6 separate regions of the Homo sapiens genome follow, and regions 2, 3, 4, 5 and 6 are each linked to region 1. Evidence: promoter capture Hi-C in 16 types of primary human blood cells and fetal thymus (Javierre and others, 2016). All regions are on one chromosome and are shown on one strand. The core of a region is centred on a gene start or on the middle of the fragment in contact, and the rest is flanking DNA. Distances in the headings are between cores, read along the strand shown. Region 1 holds the start of ZNF222 (zinc finger protein 222). Region 2 overlaps CEACAM20 (CEA cell adhesion molecule 20). Region 3 overlaps ZNF180 (zinc finger protein 180). Region 4 holds the start of ZNF285 (zinc finger protein 285). Region 5 holds the start of ZNF112 (zinc finger protein 112). Region 6 overlaps ZNF235 (zinc finger protein 235).

Region 1 (4,609 bases), core at 1,018-3,517:
GCAGGGTGGGAAGGGTGGGAGCAGGGGCATCAGCAGGGAGAAGGCTGTAATAATCCAGGAAACAGGTTTGGCCATTTACCCCAAAATGCTGGAAATGGGCATGGACAGAAGTAACAGGAATCACATGCAGGGACACACAATTGCTTGGTTCTTACCCAAATTCCCTTCTCTTTGGCTTGTTGTCCCCATCACCCAAAACTTTTCTTCCCTTAGGAAGTGGAAAGTATCTCCATGGAATGGTTGATGCCCTGTGAACAGGCAAAGTCACATGCTTAATCCCAACATGTTCAAGGTAATATCATGTTGGTGCAAACGTAATTGCAGTGTACCATTACTTCCAATGACAAAAACCACAATTACTTTTGCACCAACCTAATAGCCAGGCAAAATTTACTGGAAATGTAGGTTCTCACTGCACACTCAAACTTGAAAACCCTAGGATTAAAAAACCACTCCTGGGGCCTGACATTCCATTACAGGGGGTGCCCGTCCTCACCCACTGAGAGCAGGTTCCTGAAGTTCTCAAGCATCACATCTCGGTACAGCTTCCTCTGGGCAGGGTCCAGCAGCCCCAGCTCCTCCTCAGTGAAGATCACAGCCACATCCTTGAAGGTCACTGCCTCCTACAACATCAAGCAGATGTCACCTCAATCTTACGGCCAAAGACTATTGGGAGACAGCAGCATTGCACTGGCACAAGGGACAAGTGTAAAGTTGTTTTGGATCTTGAGAGACATAGGTCAGCTTATAGATTTCCTACTTATTCTGTTTGTGTCCTGACAATGACTGATTAGGCAATAGGGGTTTGGAATGGAGACTGCACACACCAGTCAACAGGGTGTGTCCTGAATAAATAGTGGGTAAAGGACATTTACTGAGATGCTATCTCTAACTCCACTTCAGGAAAGCTTGCTGCAGAGTTAGAGTGATATAGTCCAAATGCTCTGTTTGAGTCGCGGGCCCTTTGACGAAAATGAGACTGAGGCAGGAGAATCACTTGAACCCGAGAGGCGGAGGTTACAGTGAGCCAAGATTGCACCACTGCACTCCAGCCTAAGCAACAAGAGCGAAACTCTGTAAAAAAAAAAATATATATATATATAGAGAGAGAGAGAGAAAGAAAATAGTAGATAAGGTTAAAAAAATTAAAAAGCAAAAAGCAAACAAACAAAAACTCCTATAGAAGTCCAAGCCCCTGAGCCTTGCCTCAAGGTGCCTTCAATCAAGTCCTAACTTACGTTCTCCACCTGTTCCCAGCTAGTACCTCTGCCTCAATGAGAATTGCATTCAAGAGATGATCAACTCAGGCTCTAACCTGGACTGCCTAGGTTTCAACTCCTGCTCCACCTGTGTCTCACGCCCATCTTTAAAATGAAAAAAGCAGCACCTCTCCACAGTGCCACTGTGAAGATCATGTATTTTGGGGTATAAAGTACTTGGAATAAAGTTACCAATTAAGGCTTAATCATTATCGACACCCATGCCCGAGGGACAAATCCTACACACTCTCGGTTGAGGTAAGCATCTCTGTCAAAGAAAAAAAGCCAAGGATCACTCACGTAGAGCTTTGCCATCAGTAGCCAAGAAGTCCCTTCCTGCAGCTCTTTTAGAAAGGTCGGGCTGGGGAAAAAGAAAGCTGTGAAACACCCTGACCGTTTTGCCGTCCCCCATAAAAGTTAAATGCTCCCCTCACTTTCCTAAAAAGAGGTCAGAAGGCGTCAGGGATCATCCAGCGTCCTGCAGGGATCAGGCAGAAGGGCCGGCGCCCCTGCAGCTGGAGCTCTGACCCCACCAGAGGACCTGACAGGCTTCGTGGGAAATTAACAAGAGACCACCAGACACCGAGTGACAGGGACTGCTTTTAAGGCTCTCATTTGTGTTACCTCTTTCAGGTCCCAAAATGAATCCATTAGGATGGTCCGAAAAGTCCCGTTACAAAACAAACAAACAAACGAACCAGCAATGGAAGATAAACGGACATTAAGTGACACTCCACACCACACTGAAAGGGGCTGCACACGTAGGGAGGAGGGAGGCGGACTAAGCGAGGTCAAAGTAGGGCACACCGGGCCGCGCCAATCCCACTCCCTGAGACCCTAGCAGAGCCCCCCGACGCCAGAAGGCTCAGCTGACTGGAACGGCAATCCCCGCCCGCGCCCCTCCAAACCTCTGCTCTCCGCCCAGGCTTCTTTTCTCCTGAATCGATCATTGGGTGGTTGCGAGCCCCAAGGAAAGGAGACTCGTTCGGAAGGACTCGCAAGATGTGGAAATGACTCAAACTACTGTGGTAAATGAAATAGCAACGTCACAGTTGGGGACCGGAAGTGCTCGAGCCTCCACAGAGCGTGTGGACTCCACTTCCCAGAATTCCCCGGACTCGCCCGTGTGAGACAAAGGGCCCGCGACTCAAACAGAGCATTTGGACTATATCACTCTAACTCTGCAGCAAGCTTTCCTGAAGTGGAGTTGGAGATAGCATTTCAGTAAATGTCCTTTACCCACTGCTTATTCGGGACACACCCTGTTGACTGGTGCGTGCAGTCTCCATTCCAAACCACTATTGCCATTCCTATCGCTTCCATAAAGCCTAAGAAATCAAATATTTTCTTTCTCTGCCTTCATCTAGCTAGAAATTTTCATGGGACACAATTTTGGGAAGTGAGACATTAGGAGAAGTGAGCTGTCCTCTCCTGACAAGAAATGTGCTTGGCAGGCTGTGAGTACACGAGGAGTTGAAAGAGTAAAAAGGTGATCGTCTCAGTGGACTGTAGGTATTGGCGAGGTTCTAATATTACTGATGCTAGCATGCTGGTGGGACCAAGGTGGAAATACAAGTCAAAGTTGTTGGAGAGTAGTGCTGCAAATTATTATGGAGGAATATTTGCTAGAAAATGACGAGGTCTAAAATATGACCATGGGAGAGAGTGTCCCTTGATATTTCACATGAATCTCAGGTGGATTTTTTCATTTCTGAGAAAAATGTTACTGTGATTAAGGATTGCATTGAATCTATAGATATAGGTATTGACAGCCTTGCAATATCAAGTCGCCCAATCCATTAATAATGGATATATCTCCATTTATTTGCGCCTTCTTTAATTTTTTTTTTTTTTTTTTTGAGACAGAGTCTCACTCTGTCGCCCAAGCTGGAGTGCAGTGGCACAATCTTGGCTCACTGCAACCTCCGCCTCCTGAGTTCAAGCGATTCTCCTGCCTCAGCCTCCCAAGTAGCTGGGATTACAGGCACGTACCACCATACCTGGCCAATTTTTGTATTTTTAGTGAAGACAGGGGTTTCACCAGGTTGGCCAGGCTGATCTCGAACTCCTGGCCTCAAGTTATTCGCCTGCCTGGGCCTCACAAAGTGCTGGGATTACAGGCATAAGCCACCATGCCTGGGGTGCCTTCTTTAATTTTCTTTAGTAAGATGTTGCAAAATTCAGTGTCCAAGTGTTTCTTGTCATTGGTTAAGACAGTTCCTAAGTAATTTATTTATTTAATGCTATTGCAAAGGGAACTATTTTCCTTTTCAGATTAATTGTTTTTGTATAGAAATACAACTGCTTCTTCTATGTAGATATTTTTCCTGCAACTTTCTGACTTTACTAGCTCTAAGAGTTTTTTTTTCTTGTGAATTCTTTAGAATTTTTATATATAAGAACATGTCATTAGCATATAGACAATTTTACCTCTGTTTCCAATTTTAATAGCTTTATTTTCTTTTTCTATCTAATTGTTCTGCATAGAACTTCCAATACTACATTGACTAAATGTGGGAAAAGTGGAGAAAACTCATTGTGTTCCTGATATTAGAAGAAAAGCTTTCAGTCCTTCACCATTGAGTATGACAATCAGCTCTGAGAATTTCCATATATAGCCTTTATTTTGCTGGGGTAGTTTATTCTCCTTCTAGTTATTTGGTATTTCAATCATGAAAAGGTGCTAGGTGCTGAATTTTGTGAAACTGAATGTTCTGCATTCACTGACATGATGTGATTTATACCTTCCACTCTGCTCATGTGGAGTATTACATTGATATTTGTATGTTGAACCATAATTATATTCGCCTTCCAGGAATAAAACAGTTCGGTCACTAAGTGTAATCCTTTTAATATGCTGCTGGATCTTGCTGGTATTTTGCTGGTGAATTCTTGCATCAGTATTCATAAGGGATATTGGTGTATAATTTTATTGAATTGTCTTTTTCTGGTTTGGCATCAGGGTAATACTGACCTGACAGAAGGATCAAAGAAGTGTTCTCTCTTCTTGCATTTTTGGGAAGAGGTTGAGCAGCTATGGTGTTAAATGTTCCTTAAATGTGTTGAAGCGTTTGCCAGTGAAGCCATCTGATCCTGGGCTTTTCTACATTGGGAGGTTTTGGATTACTGATTCAATCTCCTTACTAGTTAGAGGTCTACTCAGATTTTTTTGTCTTCATAATTCAGATTTGGTAAGGTGTATGCTTTAAGGAATTTGTCTATTTCATCTAGTTATACAAATTCTTGGCATACAATTGTATATAGTATTCTATTACAATCATCTTTATTTCTGTAAAAATTGGTAATAATGTCCCCTCTTGTTTCTGATTTAGTTTCTTGAGCCTTCTGTC
Region 2 (4,609 bases), core at 1-2,500, 480 kb before region 1:
AGGACTGCAGGCACGAGCCATCACACCCAGCTAATTTTTGTATTTTTTGGTAGAGACGGGATTTCACCATGTTGGCCAGGCTGGTCTTGAATTCCTGACCTCAATTGATCTGCCCGCCTTGGCCTCCCAAAGTGCTGAGATTACAGGAATGAGCCACCCTGCCTGGCTCATTCCATGCCTTTTCATTCCATTCCACTCAGCTTTGTTTGATCCCTTTACACTCCTTTCCATCTCTTTCTTATTTCATTCCTTTTCATTCTTTTCCTTTCTTTCTATTGCATTTTATCCATTTTTATTTTTTCTTTTAATTCCTTTCAATTCATTTATTTTACATTCCATTACACTCTGTTTTATTCCAGCCCACTCAATTCCCATCCCACGACTTTATTTCGTTTCCATTCTTATTCTTCCCATCCCATTTCAGTCTTCTTATTTCCATCCATATATTTAATCCATTTCATCCGTTCTATTTCCTACCTCTCCATTCCTTCCTAGGCAATGTCCCTATTTACATTCATTTCCATTTGATTGGTTTTCACTTCATTCCACTACATTCCAGTTCTTATTCTTTATATTTCTTTTCCATTCAATTTTTCTTTTTTCCCATTCCCTTCTTTCTTTTCCATTCACTTTCTCTTCTCCATACCCTTCCCTTTCATTCAATTCTATTTCACTGTTTTCCATTCCTCTCCCTCTGTTCTCTTCAATTCCTTTCCCTTTTCATTTCTTTCCAATCCACCCCACTCTATTCTATTCCATTCCATTCTACTGCATGTTTTCTCACTTCATCCTCTCCCTTCATGCCCTTTATGGCACTTCATTCCCTTGTCTTTATTACTTTCCTTTTCAAGCTTTCCATTTAATTTCTTCTTTTCAAGTCATTCCATTCCACTCCTTTTCATTTCATTTAAGTTCTTTCCATTTCTTTCCAGTCCTTTGCATTTCCTACTCTTTATACCATTGATTTCAGTTTCATTTCATTTCATTATTTTATATTCCATGGCATTCCATTTCCCCCCTTTTCTGTTTTTTTTTTAATTTCGTTGCTTTATTTTTATTCTTTAATGTTATACTTTCCTTCTACTATATTACTTTTCTCTAATTTCCTCTCCACTTCTCTCCCCTCATTACCTTATTTTATTACTCTCTTTTCTGCTCCATTTTATTTTACTTTATTTCTTTCTTTCTGTTACAATTTTCCTTTTCATTTAATTTCTTTCATTTGCACTTCTTTGGACATCATGCCATTTTATTTCACTCCATTCTCTGCCTTTAATTTTTATTGTATTCCTTTCTGTCCTATTCAATTTCCCTCCATTTCATTTATGCCTTTGCCATCTCTTTCAGTTACATTCCTAAATAGTCTATTCCTTTTCATTCATTTCCTTTCCTTTCCAATCTTTCATTTCATTCATGATATTTACTTCCCCACATTTTTCTCATGGGAGATTTGAAGCAGTTTTTCCCATGGAAGATTTGAAGCAGTTTATATACAACACTACAAAATGGTGTTAAATTAGAAATAGAAATTACAATCAGAAAAAATATTTTTAACAATAGCAAGAAGTCAATATATGGGTAAAAAGTAAAAATATATACTGGGCCTACGTGATATCTGCCACTATATCTCTTATGTGTCTCTAAGCTTCCTGGTAACAATAAAACAGAGAGGTATGATTAGTTACATCATTCAAAAAGAAGAAAACTGGGCCAGGCGCGGTGGCTCACGCCTGTAATCCCAGCACTTTGGGAGGTGGAGGCGAGCAGATCACTTGAGGTCAGGAGTTAGAGACCAGCCTGGCCATCATGGTGAAACGCTGTCTCTACTGAAAATACAAAAATTAGCTGGGCATGGTGGCAGGCACCTGTAATCCCAGCTACTTGGGAGGCTGAGGCAGAAGAATCACTTGAACCTGGGAGGCGGAGGTTGCAGTGAGCTGAGGTCGAGCTACTGCACTCCAGCCTGGGCAACAGAACAAGACCTTGTCTCAGAAAGAAAAAAATAAAAAAGAAGAAAACTATTAGTTCATCCAGGCATAAGCAAAATTCCAGTAACAAGTTTAGAGCAGTCAAGTGATGGCTCCATAGTTCTAAGGACTAGTAGAATTATTTTAGAGAATGCAAGTGATCTCAACCCTGTCATCAGGACAGCCAGATTACTCCAATTCCAAGAATGGACTTCAGATTCTATATTCTGAACAAGCCAGTGACCAGTCAGAATTTATCCAGAGGAGGAATAAGAGAGAGGCCAGAACAGGGGCTCAAATCCATGTCCTACTGACAGGGTTTTCTTGGGTTTGGAAAAGAGAAAGTTTAGGGACAGAGAACTCCAATATTTTAGTGTCTGACAGGCTTCAAGTAGAGGGATAAATGTGTTCCTTGTTGTTCCAGAGGGCACATAAATTACCATGGAGGATAGGTAAAAGAAGGGTAGATTTTAGCCTAACAGACAGATAACTATTCTTGAAAAATGTGAATATCCTATACACCTTTTTAGTTTTTTGAGACAACGTATTGCTCTTTCACCCAGGTTGTGTGCAGTAGTGCGATCATGGCCAACTGCAGCCTCAGATTCCTGGGCTCAAGCGATCATCCCACCTTGGCCTCCCAGAGTATTGGGATTACAGACGCAAGCCACTGCACCTGGCTGAATGTTTCATATATTAATATCTTAGTCAAGAATTTTTAATGTTAAGAAAGTTAAACCCTTTGAATGTAGTTCGAATGGGGATTAATTGAGAGAACACTGAGAAATATCAGATAACTCAATTTCAGAAATTACTCCTGGGCCTCTTGGCGACTTGAATGCTATCAAGAAGCTGTTTCTCTCTTATTATACAGTTTCTCATTTTCACTAATCTATGAATTCATCTCATTCTTCTCAATCCAGATTGAATTTCTATGTAAATGTCCTGGTCATTGCTTCTCTATAACTTCAGAGTATATATAACAACATCTTCTGCTGCCCTTTAAGCATTTCTAGGTTCAAATTCTCCATAGAAGAATCAGATTGATTCAGGCCATGGTATGGATCATGTTTAGTTTTGTCAGCTCTCTAATCAGCTTTGAACTGGTAAAAACTTAGCCACCTAAGTCCCTCTCTTCACCAGTGTCTGCGTAGGGGAGCCATGTTTGTTTCCTATTATTAGTCGGGCAAAAGGTCTTCCCAGAAATACCACCTAGTAAGCTTCCTCTTATATCTCATTAGCCAGAATAAGGTCATATGGTGCTCCTTGTAGCAACAGAGGCTGAGAAAGTGGTACATTAACATTCCCAGCCTCTTCAATAGAAGCAAGCAAGGGAGGTGGTGTGGGGAAGAAGGTTAGGTCAGTCAACTCAGTGAACTCAGTGTCTGCTACATTCTGGAGGGATTAGAAGGAGCAAACCATGCAAACAGTATGAAAGGAAACATTCCAACTTGAGAGGCATCAGTAAAAAAGGCCCTGAAGAGGGTGTAGAGTTATCAGTTGCTGTATAATGAATTACCACAGACTTTGCAGCTTAAAACAACATGAATTCATTATCTCACAGTTTCTGTGGGTCAGGAGTTCAGGCATTGCTTAGTTAGCTCTTCTGCAAGGCTGTATAATCAAGGTGCCAGTCAAAGCCCAGGTCTCATCTGAGGCTCAGCTGGGGATGGATCCACTTCCAAGCTCATGTGGTCATTAGCAGCATTCAGTTCCTTGCAGGCTGTCATAATGAGGGCCTCAGTTTCTTACTGTCAGCTGGAGGTCATCCTCAGTTCTTTGCCATGTGGCCCTCTCCACAGGCAGCTCACAACATTGCATCTTGCTTCTTCAAGCCAAGACAGAAGTCATAATCTTATGTAACAGAATCACATACATGCAATCATGTATATCCTGCCACCTTTGCCATATTCTATTGGTTAGATGCAAGTCACAGGTCTTGCCCTCAAGGGGAGGAGATTACATAAAGGAATGAATACCAGGAGGCAGGGATTATGGGGACCACTTTAGAGTCTGTTTACCACAGTGGGGAAGTACATGGGCCATTCCAGGAACAGAGATGTGCCAGGGTTACTAAAGTGTGATGAGAATGGAGGAAGATTTTTGGAATTTCCAAAGAAAGGAAAGCTCCAGGCTGTTTGGGCCCCAGACTACAGTGAGTAGACTGGGAGGGTCCACCTAGCAAATGGAGCTCACATTTTCTCTTTGTTTAACAGGAGCTTGTGAATCCAGAGCCCAACACTTACATCCAAATCAACCCCTCCGTCTAATGGAAGCAGAGATCTTTTCTCCAGGAGTCCTAGAGAAACCATGCTTGATCATATATTTAATGACATTTATTAAGTGCATATTATAAGCCAGTCATTCTCTGTCATCTCTGTAGACCTTGTGATGTTCTACTGCAATGGGTTGGTCAGGCCCTGGCTTCCATAGAATCTTAGATTTTGACTCATATTTTTTTTCAAAGCAATAGTAAGGGTAAAAATGACAGCCCGTGGATCTAGAGTTAGAGGACCAAGGTTTGAGACTGAACAGCTTAGGATATCATAGTTGCAGGCTGAGGATGAGCAAACACTGTTGGTGGACTCCAGAGAGAAGAGTGAGTCTGAGTCAGCCAGAGAGGAGTAGGGGACAAAGACAGG
Region 3 (4,609 bases), core at 1,301-3,800, 460 kb before region 1:
TCCCTTCCCTCTTTCTTTCCTGTCTTTTTCTTTCTTTTCTTTTCTTTCTTTCTTGCTTTTTCTTTCTTTCTTTCTTTCTTTTCTTTCTTTCTTTTCCCTCTTTCTTTCCTGTCTTTCTCTCTCTCTTTCTTTCTTTTTCTTTTCTCTCTTTCTTTCTCTCTCTCTCTCTTTCTCTCTCTTTCTTTCTTGTTCTTCTCTTCTCATCTCTTCTCTTCTTTTCTTTCTTTTCTTTCGGTCAAGTTTATTTATTTATTTATTTATTTTTTCCCATTTCTAAATTTTTCTTTTTTTTTTCTTTTTTTCTTTTTTTTTTATTGATCATTCTTGGGTGTTTCTCGCAGAGGGGGATTTGGCAGGGTCATAGGACAATAGTGGAGGGAAGGTCAGCAGATAAACAAGTGAACAAAGGTCTCTGGTTTTCCTAGGCAGAGGACCCTGCGGCCTTCCACAGCGTTTGTGTCCCTGGGTACTTGAGATTAGGGAGTGGTGACGACTCTTAACGAGCATGCTGCCTTCAAGCATCTGTTTAACAAAGCACATCTTGCACCGCCCTTAATCCATTTAACCCTGAGTGGACACAGCACATGTTTCAGAGAGCACAGGGTTGGGGGTAAGATCATAGATCAACAGGATCCCAAGGCAGAAGAATTTTTCTTAGTACAGAACAAAATGAAAAGTCTCCCATGTCTACTTCTTTCTACACAGACACAGCAACCATCCGATTTCTCAATCTTTTCCCCACCTTTCCCCCTTTTCTATTCCACAAAACCGCCATTGTCATCATGGCCCGTTCTCAATGAGCTGTTGGGTACACCTCCCAGACGGGGTGGTGGCCGGGCAGAGGCGCCCCTCACCTCCCAGACGGGGCGGCTGGCCCGGCGGGGGGCTGGCCCCCCCACCTCCCTCCCGGACGGGGCGGCTGGCCGGGCGGGAGGCTGGCCCCCCCACCTCCCTCCCGGACGGGGCGGCTGGCCGGGCGGGGGCTGACCCCCACCTCCCTCCCGGACGGGGTGGCTGCCGGGCGGAGACGCTACTCACTTCCCAGACAGGGTGGCTGCCGGGCGGAGGGGCTCCTCACTTCTCAGACGGGGCGGCTGCCGGGCGGAGGGGCTCCTCACTTCTCAGACGGGGCGGTTGCCAGGCAGAGGGTCTCCTCACTTCTCAGATGGGGCGACCGGGCAGAGATGCTCCTCACCTCCCAGACGGGGTTGCGGCCGGGCAGAGGTGCTCCTCACTTCCTAGATGGGATGGCCGCCGGGCAGAGACGCTCCTCACTTTCCAGACTGGGCAGCCAGGCAGAGGGGCTCCTCACATCCCAGACAATGGGCAGCCAGGCAGAGACGCTCCTCACTTCCCAGACGGGGTGGCAGCTGGGCAGAGGCTGCAATCTTGGCACTTTGGGAGGCCAAGGCAGGCAGCTGGGAGGTGGAGGTTGTAGCGAGCCGAGATCACGCCACTGCACTCCAGCCTGGGCACCATTGAGCACTGAGTGAACGAGACTCCGTCTGCAATCCCAGCACCTTGGGAGGCCGAGGCTGGCGGATCACTCAGGTTAGGAGCTGGAGACCAGCCCGGCCAACACAGCGAAACCCCGTCTCCACCAAAAAAATACGAAAACCAGTCAGGCGTGGCGGCGCACGCCTGCAATCGCGGGCACTCGGCAGGCTGAGGCAGGAGAATCAGGCAGGGAGGTTGCAGTGAGCCGAGATGGCAGCAGTACAGTCCAGCTTCGGCTCGGCATCAGAGGGAGACCGTGGAAAGAGAGGGAGAGGGAGACCGTGGAAAGAGAGGGAGAGGGAGACCGTGGAAAGAGAGGGAGAGGGAGAGGGAGACCGTGGAAAGAGAGGGAGAGGGAGACCGTGGAAAGAGAAGGAGAGGGAGACCGTGGAAAGAGAGGGAGAGGGAGACCGTGGAAAGAGAAGGAGAGGGAGACCGTGGAAAGAGAGGGAGAGGGAGACCGTGGGGAGAGGGAGAGGGAGAGGGCAAGGGCGAGGGCGAGGGCGTCAAGTTTATTTTTAAAAGTAGTCTGGGCACGGTGGCTCACGCCTGTAATCCCAGCACTTTGGGAGGCCAGTGTGGGCAGATCACAAGGTCAAGAGGTCAAGACCATCCTGGCCAACATGGTGAAACCCCATCTCTACAAAAAATACAAAAATTAGCTGGGCGTGGTGATGTGCGCCTGTAGTCCCAGCTACTTAGGAGGCTGAGGCAGGAGAGTCACTTGAACCCCGGAGGTGGAGGTTGCAGTGAGTTGAGATCATGCCACTGCACTCCAGCCTGGGGACAGCGCGAGACTCTGTCTCAAAACCAAAACCAAAACAAACAAACAAACAAAAAAGTAAAAGAATAAGGAATGGCTACTCCATAAGCAGAGCAGCCCCAGGGGCTTCTGGTTGCCCATTTTTATGGTTATTTCTTGATTTTCTGCTAAACAAGGGGTGGATTATTCATGAGTTTTCCAGGACTGGGGTGGGCAATTCCCAGAACTGAGGGTTCCTCTCCTTTTTAGACCATAGAGGGTAACTTCCTGACAAAACTGTCATGGCGCTGAGACCAGCAGTTTGAGACCAGTCTGGGCAACATGACGAGACCCTGTCTTCTACAAAAAATAAAAAGGCAGTTTAACTGTTGTAGTATGTGTGGTAGTAATGCAAGCAACACAACCTCTTGGCTTTCACATTGGGCCTTCTTTACATTGCAGCAGCTCTGGCTCTTTGATACTTATTGTGAACCTCACAACCTACCCAGTAAATATACAGTGGTGTTTTTAGGTTTGGAGAATCCTTTCCTACCTTTAAATACATTAATGCTAGCCATTTTTAATAACCATTCCTACTGTAATAGTAAAATATTTTCTAGATAGATAAGGAGAAAAAATTGACACACTTATACCTTGACCTCTCCACATCAAGTGATCCTCCCATCTTTGCCTCCCAAGTAGCTGGGACTGTAGGCACATACCACCGTGCCTGGCTTATTTATTTATTTATTTATTTATTATTTTTTGAGATGGAGTCTCACTCTCTTGCCCAGGCTGGAGTGAAGTGGCATGGTCTCAGCTTGCTGCAAACTCCAACTTCCGGTTCAGGTGATTCTCATGCCTTAGCCTCCCAAGTAGCTGGGACTACAGGTATACCACACCTAGCTAATTTGTATTTTTTTGTATTTTTAGTAGAGATGGGGTTTCGCCATGTTGACCAGGCTGGTCTCGAACTCCTGAGTTCAGGCAATCTGCCCACCTCGGCCTCCCAAAGTGCTAGAATTACAGGTGTGAGCCACCATGCCCGGCCTATTTTATATATTTTGTATAGACAGGGGAGCCTCACTGTGTTGCTGAGGCTGGGCTCGAACTCCTGGGCTCAAGTGATCCTTCCACCTCAGCCTCCCAAAGCACTGTGATTACAGGTATGAACTGCTGCACCTGGCCACTTTTATTTTCTTTTAGTTTTTGATCCAATGGCTTCTAAAGAAATGAGTTATCAAAAATTAGCAGTAGTTGCTTTTCAGTGTTTGATTTGAGGAGGAGCAAAGTATCCTTGAATGGGCTATCATTTAACAGACTGAATTATTGTATCCTGTAGGAAAAAACCTGAGGACACTACAAAGGAATTGCGTTGTTTCAAGGTGATTTTTAAAGAGGGAAGCACCTTTCCTGGTTTCCAAATATTTAATTAAAATAAGTGGTTTTGAAAAACATGGATGCAGCATTAAAAGAGAGACAGTGAACCTGCTCCTCAGTTCTACCCCTTCAAAGAATAACTCCTTTTAATGCTTTTGAGAACATCTTTCCAGATTTTTCCGTGCATATTTATATTTTATAGAAATCTATTCATCTTCTGTATAATGTTCTTCATTTTTTCACTCAGCAATATATTATAGACATCTTTCTATTATTTATATGTATCGGTACATGCAAATTTATTTCTTCTCTTGGCTGCTAAATAATATTCAGTCATCTGAATAAAGCATAATTTATTTAACCAGGCACTTCCTAGTGGACATTTAGTCTCCCTTCCCATCTTGCTATGATAATGTAACTTGCTAATGAGGTTTCTTGTATATGCATCCTGATGTACTTTATGTTATTTCCTAAGGATAAGTACTTACAAGTAGACTTAATGGATGTTACATTACACTTTTAAAAATATTGCCTTTAAAAAAACAAAAATAAAAGAATGTACATAAAAATGGAATAAACTCTGTACATGAATTAATAATATTGTACCAAAATTTCAATTTCCTGGTTTTGACAATGTACTGTCATTATATATGATATTACCAGGGAAAGCTGAGTGTGGCTCTATTTTTGCTACTTCTTGTGAATCTTTAAGGATTTCAAAATAAAGCAGTATTTGTAAATACAGATATTTAATATATAGCCAATACAGGAGGGTTGTATCAATTTATACTTCTTCTAAGAATATATGAAGCTCTTGGCCAGTGGGCTGCCAGAGCTGGAGTCATTAGCAACAGACTAATGACTGTGACTGTCACAAAAACACCCGACGTGGTCAGGATGTTGGTTATGTACAGGGCTTGAGCAAATAAGTAAATATAAAGAGGAAAATGGGAGCCAGAGAAAGAAAGTATACATAAAGAAAGGAGAAAA
Region 4 (4,609 bases), core at 1,280-3,779, 380 kb before region 1:
ACAGGGTCAGCATCACTAAATTTTAAAATCCAAAATGTTTCACAATCTAAAACTTTTGGAATGTGAACATGACACCACAAGTGGAAAATTCCACACCTGAAGTATTTGCTTTCTTTCTGTTCTTTTCATTGATTTTTCTTTGGTCATCTGACGAAGGCAATCTTTGCTTCTGATGGTTCAATGCACACAAACATTGTATACAAACCTTGTGAACAAAATTATTCAAAATAATTCTATAAAATTAATTTCAGGCTACATGTATAAGGTTTATATGGAACACAAATGAATTTTGCATTTAGACTTGGGTCTCATCCTCAAGATATCTCATTACGTATATGCAAATATTGCAAAATCTGAAAAAAATAAAATATCTGAAACACTTCTGGTCCCAAGTATTTCAGATAAGGAATACAACACTTCCATACCTAACAACACAACTTTTAAAAAGTAAAGCCATTTGTATACCTAGTAACTTGACTTTTGAAAAATGAAGCAGGCTGGGCATGGTGGCTCACGCCTGTAATCCCAGCACTTTGGGAGGCCGAGGTGGGCAGATCACAAGGTCAGGAGATGGAGACCATCCTGGCTAACACGGTGAAACCCTGTCTCTACTAAAAATACAAAAAAATTAGCTGGGCCTGGTGGCGGGCACCTGTAGTCCCAGCTACTCGGGAGGCTGAAGCAGGAGAATGGTGTGAACCTGGGAGGCAGAGCTTGCAGTGAGTTGAGATGGCGCCACTGCACTCCAGCCTGGGCAACAGAGCGAGACTCAGTCTCAAAAAAAAAATAAAGGAAATAAATAAATAAATAAATAAATAAATAAATAAAGCAAATGCTATAGAGAGGAAAATGACAAATTTACCATTATAGGCTTTTTTTTCTTTCACTTTTTTCTTTTTTCTTTTTTTTTGGTGACAGAGTCTTGCTCTGTCGCCCAGGCTGGAGTGCAGTGGCATGATCTCGGCTCATTGCAACCTCCACCTCCTGGGTTCAAGTGATTCTCTTGCCTCAGCCTCCCAAGTAGCTGGGACTACACGTGCTTGCCACCATGCCTGGCTAAGTTTTGTATTTTTAGTAGCGATGGGGTTTCACCACCTTGGCCAGGCTGGTCTTGAACTCCTCACCGCGTGATCTGCCCACCTCGGCCTCCCAAAGTACTGAGATTACAGGCTTGAGCCACCACGCCCAGACTGGGAACCTTTTTGACATGCACTTTTCAATCGTTGACAGATGCATAATGAAAAAATCTAAGTAAGCACAAATAAGCATGTAGGAAATTTAAATAGCACAGTTAGCAAGTCTGGGGAAAATATAAATGTATGCATATCCATCTGATAGAGAAGACACATTGTTTTCCAACAGACACAGATGTCACAAAAATTAACCTTGTATTAGGTCAAAAATAAAAATGTTCCTGAACTCGTTTTTTAAAATTCAAGTATGTCAAATTAAATCAAGTAATCCTTCAACTTAGAGCAATATATAAGAACATCAAACATGTAAACATCAAAAGACAGAGATAAGCCAAAACAATTGCACTGTCCCTTTATGTGCCCTAAGCTGCGATGTCAAGCTATAGTTGGATATTATTCAACCATTTCCTGCCCATTGCGTAGAGGTGGGGGTCTTCACTTCTCTATCTAGTCTAGGACTGGAACCGCCTCACCACCCCTACAGCTTGAGGGTGCGTGGAAAAGGGAATGCCAGCCAGATATTCCAAACAGAGACTCTGCCAGCAGGACCAGGTGACCTTTCCTAGGAGACAGATTGTTCTCACACGTTATCAGGGCTTTCCTCCAGGCTAAAACTGTGGGCCTCTAATGGAATTCCTATTCAATTTTCTTACCCCATTTAGGGTACCCAAATTTTTCTTTAATAGAAATCTTAAATCTTAAATGCAATAACATGAAGTAAAATAAAGCCTAAGTCTCAACAAGGGCAAATTTTCAAAAAGAATCTGAAAACTTCCCGCGTTTTCTTGTTATGTTGTAATGTGTCTCTTTTAGGACACTCTCAGTACTCCTGCAATTCCCCTGTTAAGGATTCAGACAATAGTTGTTAATTCCTTCTGCTTCTTCTGAGACTAGGAAATAAATTACAGGGCTATGTTATATCGCAAGTGTAGATTATCCAGAGTTTTCATCAACAGAAATAAAACATGGTGGGGGGCGGGGAGGGAATTATTTAAGTGAGTGTTAATTGAAAAGTTTCGTGGTTTTAACGTTAAAAGACATGCCTATAAAATAAGAACTTATAAAAGTCTTCACTAAAACGGTAAAGTGCCCATTTCCAAGTAGTAAAATATTGAAACTTCTTTTCATCGTTGATAGTGATTTATTTAACATTTCATTATTTTATCGTTATTATGATTGTCGTTATTTTAGACGAATGCACGGAAGTCAAAGGACTTCCAAATGCACGGAAGTCAAAGGCCACCTTCACCAGGGTAGCCTTGCGAATGGCCACTGCTGCGCGCGGGGCTTTCTGGGGATTGTAGGCCATAGGCCTCCTTGCGCATGCGCCATGGTACTGGACGCACGCTGCGGGCGACATTGTTTGGGACGCTGGGGTGAGTCCCGTCTGTACCGCGCCCCTCTTGGAGGCGTAGCCAGGAGTAGGAGTGTAGGATGTGCAGCTGTGACCCGTCCCTGTGGACTGAAGTAGGAGGAGTGGAAGAGGGGACTGGTAACCAATGATAAGGCCTCGTAGGTGGGGTAGACTAGGGAAGTTCAGCGGCCCGACCTACCCGGGATAGGATGGGAAGAGCGTGGGCTCGAGCGTGGGCTCGGTTTGGGGAGCAGCCCTGGGTTTGACAAAACAGTGCATCTTCACGTTTCGTGACAGCGACTTGCGCTGTGCCTCCTCGGGTCGAAGCTTAGGGTCAGTCTTGGGATGTGCATCTCTGGATGAGGGCAGAGGGGCGCTGGCTCAGGGTTTTGGAGTAATGGCTGGACTGTGCGTCCCTGAATGGGATGAGGGATTTGCTTAAGCAGCTAGTCTCTGGATATAGAGGATGGCTTCGGCTGTTCTCGCTCAGTTTGGTGGGGGCGATTCTGGCTCAGCACCCCTAGGTTCTTGGATGGGGAGTTGTCTTGGGTCTGAACTCTGGATTTTGGCAGCTCTGACTCCATTGGGGCATTTATGACTTCAAGGCAGAGGTTCTGGCTTTTGGCAATAAAGAAACAACTCAGACTGTAATACTGTAATAACTCCAGAGTTTAATGTCACCGAATACATTTTGAAAAGAACTGTCCCAGGCCTGGCGCGGTGCCTCACGCCTGTAATCCCAGCACTTTGGGAGGCCAAAGTGGGCGGATCACGAGGTCAGGAGATCGAGACCATCCTGGCTAACACGGTGAAACCCCGTCTCTACTACAAAAAACAATTACAAAAAATTAGCCGGGCACGGTGGCAGGCGCCTGTAGTCCCAGCTACTCGGGAGGCTGAGGCAGGAGAATGGCGTGAACCCGGGAGGCGGAGCTTGCAGTGAGCTGAGATCACGCCACTGCACTCCAGCCTGGGCGACAGAGCCAGACTCTGTCTCAAAGAAAAAAGAAAAGAAAAGAACTGCCCCAAATTATTAACTCCATTCTCACCTCACATGCTGTGAGCCAGGGAGTAGGGACTTTGAGTATTATAAAGCACATTAGCAAATATAAGTTGTTAAATTACACTCAACAAATTTGAAGTTTGAACACTCTCTGTATATTTGATAAAGTTAGAGATTTAGTGTTAATTATTTTAGGTGTAATAGCAGCATTTATTACATTTCTGATCGTGTTTCTGGGCAATTGCAGTTCCAGATTCAGCTGCACTTTTCCTCTAGGTCTTCATTCCCTGAAGAAGTTGATATGGGCATCTGGTCTCATTCCTGATGCATTCCTCAGATCAGAGTAGTTGTCAGGGTGAGGGATGAGAAAGGCATTTGTGTGCGAGAGCTGTGTGGACTTTGGCAGATAGGGAAAAAACAAGAGTCTTGAGGTGCCATGTGTCCCATGCCTTTGGCTCCCCACCTTTTCCACCCTGCTGTCTGCCCTGAAAGGCCGCCATTGCCTTCTGGCCTTGCTTGTCTTTGGCCAATGGGAAGTCTCAACAGGAAAGTTTGGAGAGAGGAAGAAGTGTGAGTTGGAGTATCTTGTCCCCCAGTTCTCTCTCTGCAGGATTGTCACAGATTAGCTGCCCTTCTAAACAACAGGTCATAGTTTGGGTGGCCCTGGCCACACAGTCCTCTTAGTTCCAGGCTCCAGGGACTGCTCCCTCCCCTTACCTCTTAAGGCCCAGGTATTATAATGGCACCTCCCTGTCACTCCCCAGGATAGAGCCTTATCCATTGTGATTTCCTTACCCCGAGCCAACACCATTGTAAGCCGTCTGTTTATTAAACTCTCCTCAAATTTCAATGTGCCGTCTGGTTCGTGCCACGGCCCTGACTTGATACAGGCAGGTAGTGTCTGAAGCCAGAAATTCAGGAAACCAAACCCCCAACCATATATGTGTGAGTGCATGTGTGTGGATGTGTGCTTCAAAATAAACCTGTCCCATTATTGGCTCTTCAGTGAGAACAGGTACTGGAAGTAGAGGGTGAGTTTATGTCTTTGCACGTGCATCT
Region 5 (4,609 bases), core at 693-3,192, 330 kb before region 1:
ACTATACAAATACTGACTATCCAAACGAGAAAGAGACGACTTAAGGGAAAGTGCTACCCTGCAAGAAATTCCGGGAATTGTCCAGAAGATCCACAGGGTCAGAGACACACGCGCCAGGAAAGGCGCCTTTCATGCACGGTCCGCTGGGTAAAACAGAGAAATATATATACGAGCTCTCTGTCTTTGGAAGCATTTCGGTTCCAGGAAGGGGGAGTTAAGGAATTCCTTTGGGACCGGCACATGTGAAATATCATCCAGGCTCTCAGCTTGGCACCCGGTACTTGCGTCCTAGGCAGGCAGATAAGTGGAGAGTTTTTCTAGGAATTCTGGGAAATGTAGTTTGGGAGCCCCGTGTAGTCGGGTAACTTCCGCTCTAGGAGGCTGAGGCCGTCTCCCTGATCCCGTCGGGAATTCTGGGAAGCGTAGTCCAGGAGGTCTCGGTAGGCAGAGCCACTTCCGCCCCAGGTACGCTAGGCCGCGGCCTTCGTTCCTCCCAGAAAGGTGAGCGCTCCCCGCCCTGCTTCCTGCTCCTTCCGTCCATACTGATGTTCGTTTTGTTGGGGTCCAGTAGCAACCGGGCAGTAGCTCTAGGGGAGGATAATCCACTTGCGGCGAAGGGCGGGATTTGTGTTATCTTTGAATGAGCCTTCTCCAGTGTGGGGCAGCTGGCGCATCCCCACTTAGCGCCGGGGGTCCAAGATCCTACATCGCAGGGACTGGGGATCTCCTGGGTTCTGTACTTCCCCAGCCCTTTCCCCTGACCATCAACCAGCTCTGCCACTTCCTAGCAGTATAATAACAGGCGAGTATCTTAATCTCTCTGCCTATGTTTCTTTTTCTTTAAAATGGTACTAGTATCTATCTAATGGAGTTCTTTTGAGAGTTAAATAAAAAGACTTGGAACAGAGCCTGACAGGTGGTAGAAGATGGGTCTCTTGTTATTAGCACTTTTTAATTTTCTGAGAAGGACTCAGTTCCCTGAAAGCTTCTGTGAACCCAGGATGGGGTCAGAGCTCCAGCTGCAGAGTATCCCTGGCCCTTTTCTGATCACTGAGAGATTTTTCTTTAGGACAGGATCACTCCTGGCTGTCTGGGTAGTCCATTGTAATTCATGCAGGAGTTCTGATTTCCCCCATCCTCCTTTCCTTCTTTAGCCTTGACTTCTTGAAAAAGGCTGCAGGGAGAAGGAGGGAATGACCCTTTGGCACTTGGCAGCGGAGTCTCACCTGAGTAGTACTTATCATCCTTTCTTTTCAGGGAAGACGATATTTCCATCATTCACTGGCAAATTCTGCTCGAAGATGCGCTGATATTTGTTCAATAAATGCAGAAACGGATGAGGGAGTACTTGGGCATGAGTAATAAAGATAGTATTTAAACATTTAGTGCTGATCATTCTAAGAGTTTGATATGAATTAACATCTTTAATCCTCACAAGAGCCCTTTGAGCCTGGGTTGGGTACCACCATTCCCATTTTAAAGATAAGCAAACAGACATAGAGCATAGGTGGTTTATCTTTAGGTCACCCAGGTGGTAAGAGCCTGAGCTGGGATTTGAATTCAAATAGTTTCCATCCATTGCCTTAGTTCTTGATGTGTTTAGTATCAGCTTCAGAACACATATTTGGATTTTACTAGAGGACCGTGAAAGCAAGGTTAATAAGCTTTGAATTTTTGATTTTTTAAAATTATCTGTAATTTAATTTTATTTGAAATATTTATAGTTCATATTCTGATTATATAAATTATTGCATATTGTAAAAGATTAAGAAAGTATAGAAAGTGTAAAAGAAAAAAATTATGCTAACCACAAGATATAACAGTAACAATATTAATATTTCAATGTTTTCCTCTTCCAGTAGACTTCTTTTTGGATTTTCACCCATGTTTAACCAAATAGGCTTCATAGCTTTTATTTTTCCCTTAAGTTTTTACTATGGAAATTTGTAAGCATAGCCAAATGTAATATGACTAAAATAATTCTGTGGAAGCGTCACCCAGCTTCAACCTTTGTTAACATTTGCCAGTCTTGTATCAACTCCCTGTCCCTTTTTTTTTTGTTTCAGTATTTTAAAGCAAATCTCTAACATCGACTTAGTATAATATCGTTTGATTGATTGTCATAATTGCCAAACGTTGATGATCATAAATTGCTTATATCCAAGACTTTGAAAGGGAAATGCCAGCAGCTACTCTAAGGTTTTCATTCGTTGAAGCTTACAGAATGGTCCTTACTTGAGGAAGCTAGGGGATGCAAGAGAATTGTACCTTGGAGAAGGATGGTGATGAATTTTGTGTTCCAGTATAGAGTTTGCCTTGCCTAAGTCTTATAGCTCTTTGTTTCTTATTTCTCTTTATCTAAATCCATACACTGAAAGTTCTTCTATTTCTGGGACCATGTCATACTTTTCTCCATGTGCCCAGCACATCGTACAAGGTTGTTAAGGGTTTATGGTTAGAGTAGCTACTCAACAGACAGCTGGCATCAAGGATTTGCAGTGTGGAATTGGAATTAGGTATCAAAATAGAATAGAAATAACCCCTGGATATATTCCTTAATCTCACTTAATATTGGTAGGTTATATAATCCACCAACTATTTCAGAGTATTGAAGAGTTGAAGAGCAATGATTGGTTATGTTTTGATAATCTAAAAAAATTCCTAAGAAACAAATTGTTAGAAATGGTAACAACATTTATAGACCATGCCTTATAACTGAGGTTGTGTTTCCAGGTTTTTAAAACAGGTTTTTAAAAAATGTTTTTACAGTGACATTGACTATTTTGTTATTTTTGGTATACAATTCTATTACAACACAGGCATAGTTTGTATAACGACTACCGTAGTCAGAAAAAGAACAGTTCCATCACCCCAAAAACTCCCCTCATGTCTTCCCTCATAATTACCCCTCACCATACCTGTAACCACTGGCAACTACCATAACCACTAAAACGCTATAGTTTTGTCTTTTTGAGAATGTCGTATAAATGAACTGATGCTATATGTTAACATTTGAGACCGGATTCTTTTACTCAGCAAATTGCTCTTGACATTCATCAAAGTTGTTATACGTATCAATACTTCATTTCTGTTTACTTCTGGTTAACAGAAGTGTCCACTTTATGGATGTATCACAGTTTATCTATTCTCTGGTTGATAGACTTTTTCCTCCACTTTTTGGCATTTATGAATAGAGCTGATATAAACATTCATGTACAGTTTTTTTTGTGCTTATTTCTGTAGGGTACGAAGCCAGGAGTGTGGTTACTGGATCATATGGGGAATGTATGTTTAACTTTATAAGATGCCAAACTGTAGTATCTGTACCATTTTGCATTCTCACTAATGATGTAGAAAGTTCCAGTTTATTTACATCTTCATCAGCACTTAGTATTTTCCTTATTTTTTTTTATTTTAGCCATTCTAAGCATTGTGACTTTAATTTACATTTCCCTAATGGCTAATGGTGTTCAGCAGATATTTCTTTTTTTGTTATTGTTTCTTTGCCATCCTTATATCTTCTTTGCGGAAGTGTCTGTATGCATGCTTTGCCCAGTTTTACATTGGGTTATATTTTTCCTATTGTTGATTTTTGAGAGCTATTTATATATTCTGGATATAAGTCCTTTGTTGGATGTGTGATTTGCAAATATTCCTTCTCAGCCTGTAGCTTGTCTTTTCATTCTCTTAATAGTGTCTTTTGCAGAACAAAATTTCTAATTTTAATTACATCTAATTTATCAATGTTATCTTTTTTGGATTGTGCTTTTGATGTCATATCTAAGAAGTCTGCCTAGCCCCAGGTCGTGAAGATTTTCTCTTGTTCTAGAAGTTTTATGGTTTTACACTTAAATCTGTGATCCATTTTAACTTTTTTTATAATATGTGATGGTTAAGTTGGGTTTTATTTCTTTACATATGAATGACCAACCATCCCAACACCACTTGTTTGGGTTTATTTCTGTACCATGTTCTGCTAAATTGATCTATGTGTGTATCTCTTCACCAGTACCAAGATATCATATTTACTGTAGCTTGATAGTAAATCTTAAGACTGGATAGTTTGATTCTTCCAAATTTATTCTTTTTTTCCAAAATTGCTTTTAGCTATTCTGGTTCCTTTGCCTTTCCATATGCATTTTAGAATCAGCTTATTTATATCTACCAAAAATTCAGCTGGTATTTTCATTGACATTATGTAAAATCAGTAGATCCGTCTTTATCACATTGAGTTTTCCAGTTCATTGATATAACATGTCCCTTCATTTAAGTGTTCTTTAATTTCTTGCATTAGTGTTTCATGATTTTCTGCATACAGATCTATACATGTTTTGTTTAGACATATGCCCGAGTATAATATATAATTTATTCTTCTAGAGCTATTTTAAATCATATTGTTTTAAAATTTTGGTTTCCAGTTGTACATTGTTAGTGTATAGAAATACACCTGATTTTTGTGCATTGACCTTGTATTCTCTGACTTTGCTATACTCACTAGAAATTTTTGTTTTTTGGTAGATTCCTTGGGATTTTCCACAGAGACACATGTTGTGTATTAATAGGGTCAGTTTTATTTCTTCCTTTCTAATCTGTATGCTTTTTATTTCTT
Region 6 (4,609 bases), core at 1,301-3,800, 270 kb before region 1:
TCTGTTTTTCCCCCTCCCTTTGTCTCTGCCACCCTCACTTGTTCCTCAGATATGACATCTGCATCACAGCCTTTTACTTTCTATTCTCTGGCTGGAATGCTGTTTTTTCTTAAACCTTTGTCTTTCTGATTGATTGATTGATTGAGATAGGGTCTCACTCTGTTGCCCAGGCTGGAGTACAATGACACAGTCTCGGCTCACTGCAGTCTCCACCTCCTGTGCTCAAGCAATCCTCCCACCTCAGCCTTCTGAGTAGCTGGAACTACAGGTGTGCACCACCACACCCAGCTAATTTTTATATTTTTTGTACAGACGAGGTTTCCCCATGTTGCCCAGGCTGCTCTTGAACTCCTGGACTCAAGCAATCTGCCCACCTCAGCCTCCCCAAAATGCTGGGATTATAGATGTGAGCCACTGCGCCCAGCCCCTCTTCCTTATTTCATTCATGCTTCTGCTCAGAAATCATTTCATGAGAGGCTTTCTTAAAATACCATCTTCCAGCTGGGCGCGGTGGCTCATGCCTGTAATCCCAGCACTTTGGGAGGACAAGGTGGGCGGATCACCTGAGGTCGGGAGTTCGAGACCAGCCTGACCAACATGGAGAAACCCTGTCTCTACTAAAAATACAAAATTAGCTGGGCGTGGTGGCACATGCCTGTAATCCCAGCTACTCGGGAGGCTGAGGCAGGAGAATCGCTTGAACCCAGGAGGCAGAGGTTGCAGTGAGCCGAAATCGCACCATTGCACTCCAGCCTGGACAACAAAAGCGAAACTCTGTCTCAAAAAAAAAGGTTAGATTCCTTTCTTCTGTCAGTATTGGGTTTAATTTGGTTTTGTTTTTTGCTTTTCACATTTTTATTGGGAGCCACTGGGGAGGGTCCTCCTCCCTGTCAGTGGAGATGCTCACAGTTTCTTCAGCCACTCCAGGGTTGGGCCCTAGGAGTCCTGGGGGTGGCTGGACACATAAGGCATGCTCCCATCATCTCAGACAGGCATTGGGTAATTGTAGGGTGTGGCCTGGTTGATCATGATGGCATACTTGGTGTAGGGGCTGAGTGGGGGCAGAATTATAGCATGGCCTGCAATGGTGAAGGACACAGCCAGCACTGGCTGCTTGGCCCAGGCATTCCTGAAGAAGGCAGCAAGTCTTGCAGCCATCTTGGTCTTGGTAATGGCGATGGCTTGTTACTTTTTTCATTTCCTTAAGGTATAAGGTTATGATGTTGATTTGAGACCTTTTTCCTTTTCATTGTAACCATTTATAGCTATAGATTTCCCCCTTAGCACTGTTTTTGCAGTGGATTCGTTTTCATTTATCCCAAGATATTTTCTAGTTTCCCCTGTGATTTCTTCTTTGATCTATTGGTTGTATGTGTATTGTTGAATTTTCACATATTTATGGAATTTTCAGGTTTTATTCTGCTATTCATTGCTAGTTTCATTTCATTTTGATCAGCAGAGATACTTTGTGTGATTTTAATATTTTTATATTTATTAAGGCTTTTTTGTAGTTTAACATATGGTGTATCCTAGAAAATGTTCTGTATGTACTTCAGAAAAATGTGTATTCTGCTGTTATTGGGTGGAGTGTTCTGTATAATCATAGTCTACGTGTATATATTTGTTAGGTCCATATACTTCAAAAATGTATAAAACATAGAAAATTGATTAATTCTAAAATTGCTTATGTCCTTTGTTAAGATATCATCTAATCCACCAAACTGAGGGAGATATGTGACAAAAATGACTTAGTAGGATGCCATTTGTAATCCCACCATTCAGTTCAGTTTTAACATTCATTTTACATCTTTTTCTGTTAATGAAAATTGACTGATAGTTTAAATGGATAATTTCTGCTTCTCCACCCTTCCCCCAACATACACATAATTTGGATGACCTATTTGTTTTCCTATGACTTTAAACTTTTTATTTTGAAAACTTAAAAAACATAGAAAAGTAAATAATGCCATAGACTCTGTATATCCATACTGTCTTAGCAGTTATCAACTTTCTGCTGTTCCTGTTTTATCTTTCCCTTTTATTTTTTGCTGGAGAATGTCATATCACCCATAGATTTATCAGTGTCTATCTACAACAGTAACTCCTTATTGTCACTTACTATCCATTTTATAATCAGTATGGGCTCATATGTATTTATTTATACTTCGTGTTATAATCCAGTATTGCATTGTTTATTTTGTTACCAAGTTATTTCTACTTTGACCACTTGGAGCTTTTTCAGGTTGCCTCCTGTGGTTGAAATCACCAGTGATTTCTAGAAATGCAAATTAAAACAATGGTGAGATATCATCTTATACCAGCCAGAATGGCTATTATTAGAATCTGTTATGGATCTCTGGAGATCTCAGGTAATGAACTCAAGATGGATTAAATAGCACCATTTATTCAATAGGATGTCCTTTCCCCAGTGTATGTTTTTTTCGACTTTATCAAAGATCAGTTGGCTGTAGGTATGTGACTTATTTCTGGGTTCTCTTTTCTATTCCATTGATCTGTGTATCTATTTTTATATCAGTACGATGCTGTTTTGGTTACTATAGCCATGTAGTGTAATTTGAAGTCAGGTAATGTAATGCCTCCAGCTTTGTTATTTGCTTAGGATTGCTTTGTCTATTCAGGCTCTTTTTTGGTTCCATATGAATTTTAGAATTGTTTTTCCTCATTCTGCAAAAAATGACATTAGTATTTAGATAGCCATTGCATTGAATTTGTAGATTGCTTTGGGCAGTATGGTCTTTTTAACAATATTGATTCTGCCGATCCATGAACATGGGATGTTTTTCCATTTTTTTTATGTCATCTACAACTTCTTTCATTATTGTTTCATAATTTTCCTTGGTTAGATCTTTCCCTTCCTTGGTTAAATACATTCCTAGGTATTTTAATTTTTTTGTAGATACTATAAATTGGATTGTGTTCTTGATTTGGTTTTTAGCCTGATCATTATTGTCGTATAGAAATGCTACTGACTTTTGTATATTGATTTTTTTTAATCCTGAAACTTTATTGAAGTCATTTGTCAAATCTAGGATTCTTTTGGAGGAGTCTTTAGGGATTTGTAGGTATAAGATCAGATTGTCAGAAAACAGAGATATTAAATGACTTACTCTTTTCCAATTTAGATTGGTTTTCTGTCTTTCTCTTGCCTGATTACTTTGGCTAGGACTTCCAGTGGTACGTGAAATAGGAGTGGTGAAAGTGGGCAATCCTTGTTTTATTCCAGTTCTTAGGGGGAATGCTTTCAGCTTTTCCCCATTCAGTATGTTACCTATGGGTTGTCATATATGGCTTTTATTATTTTGAAATATGTTTCTTCTGTGCCTAGTTTGTCAAAGGTTTTTATCATGAGAGGATGCTGAATTTTGTCAAATGGTTTTTATATATCTGTTGAGATGATCATGTGGTTTTTGTTTTTAATTCTGTTTATAGGCTGAATCACATTTATTGGTTTGTGTATGTTGAACCATTCTCGCATCCTTGGAATAAAACCCACTCGATCATGGTGGCTTATCTTTTTGATGTGCTATTAGATTTGGTTTGGGGGGTTTTGTGGGGGGATTTGTGTTTGTTTTTGGAGGATTTTTGCATCTACATTCATCAGGGATATTGCTCTGTAGTTTTCTTTTTTTGTTGTGTCTTTATCTGACTTTGGTATCAGAGCAAGAGTGGCTTTCTAGAATGAGTTAGGGAGGATTCTCTCCTCTTAGATTTTTTGAAAGAGTTTTAGTAGAATTGGTACCAGTTCTTTGTACCTTTTGTGGAATTCCAGTGTACCTTTGTCTGGTCCTGGGCTTTTTTGTTCTTGGGAGGTTTTGCATTGCTGATTCAATCTCACTGCTCATTACTGGTCTGTTTAGGATTTCTGTTTCCTCCTGGCTCAATCTTGGGAGCCAGATGGGCTCAATCTTGGGAGGTTGTATGTTTCCAGGAATTCATTTTCTCTAGAATTTCTAGTTTTCAAGTGTATTGTTCATAAGAGTGTCTGATCATGTTTTTTATTTCTATGGTATTAGTTGTAATGTCTCATTCATTTCTGATTATGTTTATTTGGATCTTCTCTTTTCTTGGCTAGTCTTACTGGCAGTCTATCAATTTTATCTTTTCAGAGATAAAAACGAGCTTTTCGTTTCATTGATCCTTTGTATGGTTCCATGGTTCTCTATTTTATTTAGTTCTGCTGTGGTCTTTGTTATATCTTTCTTCTGCTGACTTTGGGTTTGGATTTTTCCTGTTTTTCTAGTTCCTGGAGGTGAGACACAGGTTGTTAATTTTTTATCTTTTTTTTTTTTTAGTGTAGACATTTAACACTATAAACTTCCCTCTTAGCACTGCTTTTGCTTTATCCCAGAGGTTTTGGTATATTGTATTTTCGTTTTCATTCATTTCAAGAAATTTTAAAATTTGTCTTGTCATTAACCCAAAGATTGTTTAGGATCATGTTTAATTTTCATGTATTTGTATAGTTTCTAGAGTTCTTCTTGGAATTGATTTCTAGTTTTATTCTGCTGAGGTGTGAGAAGATACTTGGTGTGATTTTGGTTTTTAAAAATGTATTGAGACTTTTTTTGTGACCTAACATATGTTCTAT

Evidence for each region. Contacts are between HindIII fragments. The CHiCAGO score rates a contact against its expected background, and 5 or more counts as called.
Region 2: a fragment that was not itself captured here is called in contact with the fragment with the promoter of ZNF222 in region 1 in 1 of 17 cell types (M0 macrophages); the score reaches 5.9 in M0 macrophages.
Region 3: a fragment that was not itself captured here is called in contact with the fragment with the promoter of ZNF222 in region 1 in 4 of 17 cell types (M1 macrophages, monocytes, erythroblasts and 1 more); the score reaches 6.2 in M1 macrophages.
Region 4: the fragment with the promoter of ZNF285 here is called in contact with the fragment with the promoter of ZNF222 in region 1 in 6 of 17 cell types (fetal thymus, erythroblasts, total B cells and 3 more); the score reaches 8.8 in fetal thymus.
Region 5: a contact is called between a fragment that was not itself captured here and the fragment with the promoter of ZNF222 in region 1, in 1 of 17 cell types (megakaryocytes). The highest score is 5.2, in megakaryocytes.
Region 6: a contact is called between a fragment that was not itself captured here and the fragment with the promoter of ZNF222 in region 1, in 3 of 17 cell types (non-activated CD4 T cells, naive CD8 T cells and monocytes). The highest score is 5.9, in non-activated CD4 T cells.

Annotation. Positions count from the first base shown.
Region 1 is chr19:44,023,037-44,027,645 of GRCh38, reverse strand. It overlaps ZNF222 (zinc finger protein 222), which reads right to left and starts at 2,267. Exons shown (of 4, transcript NM_001129996.2): 1 at 2,168-2,267; 2 at 497-623; 3 at 156-248. The coding sequence starts at 2,209. It overlaps ZNF222-DT (ZNF222 divergent transcript), which reads left to right and starts at 2,364. Exons shown (of 3, transcript NR_184028.1): 1 at 2,364-2,531; 2 at 2,627-2,748; 3 at 3,747-4,609. RefSeq lists enhancers at 1,972-2,021, 2,252-2,301. The HindIII fragment of the contact is 1,542 bases long and covers 911-2,452 here.
Region 2 is chr19:44,505,789-44,510,397 of GRCh38, reverse strand. It overlaps CEACAM20 (CEA cell adhesion molecule 20), which reads left to right. Exons shown (of 12, transcript NM_001102597.3): 12 at 4,184-4,239. The coding sequence ends at 4,237. Among named protein-coding and RNA genes, the nearest start is that of ZNF180, 7.6 kb to the right of the region's middle. The HindIII fragment of the contact is 794 bases long and covers 854-1,647 here.
Region 3 is chr19:44,485,440-44,490,048 of GRCh38, reverse strand. All of the region lies in intron 2 of ZNF180 (zinc finger protein 180), which reads left to right. Among named protein-coding and RNA genes, the nearest start is that of ZNF180, 13 kb to the left of the region's middle. The HindIII fragment of the contact is 7,682 bases long and covers 1-4,609 here.
Region 4 is chr19:44,399,528-44,404,136 of GRCh38, reverse strand. It overlaps ZNF285 (zinc finger protein 285), which reads left to right and starts at 2,529. Exons shown (of 4, transcript NM_152354.6): 1 at 2,529-2,569. RefSeq lists an enhancer at 2,376-3,132. The HindIII fragment of the contact is 3,728 bases long and covers 1-2,876 here.
Region 5 is chr19:44,352,518-44,357,126 of GRCh38, reverse strand. ZNF112 (zinc finger protein 112) reads left to right here and starts at 447. Exons shown (of 4, transcript NM_013380.4): 1 at 447-501. RefSeq lists an enhancer at 138-638. The HindIII fragment of the contact is 552 bases long and covers 1,667-2,218 here.
Region 6 is chr19:44,293,653-44,298,261 of GRCh38, reverse strand. The region is part of intron 4 of ZNF235 (zinc finger protein 235); the gene reads left to right. It also overlaps the pseudogene NDUFA3P1. Among named protein-coding and RNA genes, the nearest start is that of ZNF235, 9.1 kb to the left of the region's middle. The HindIII fragment of the contact is 6,273 bases long and covers 1-4,609 here.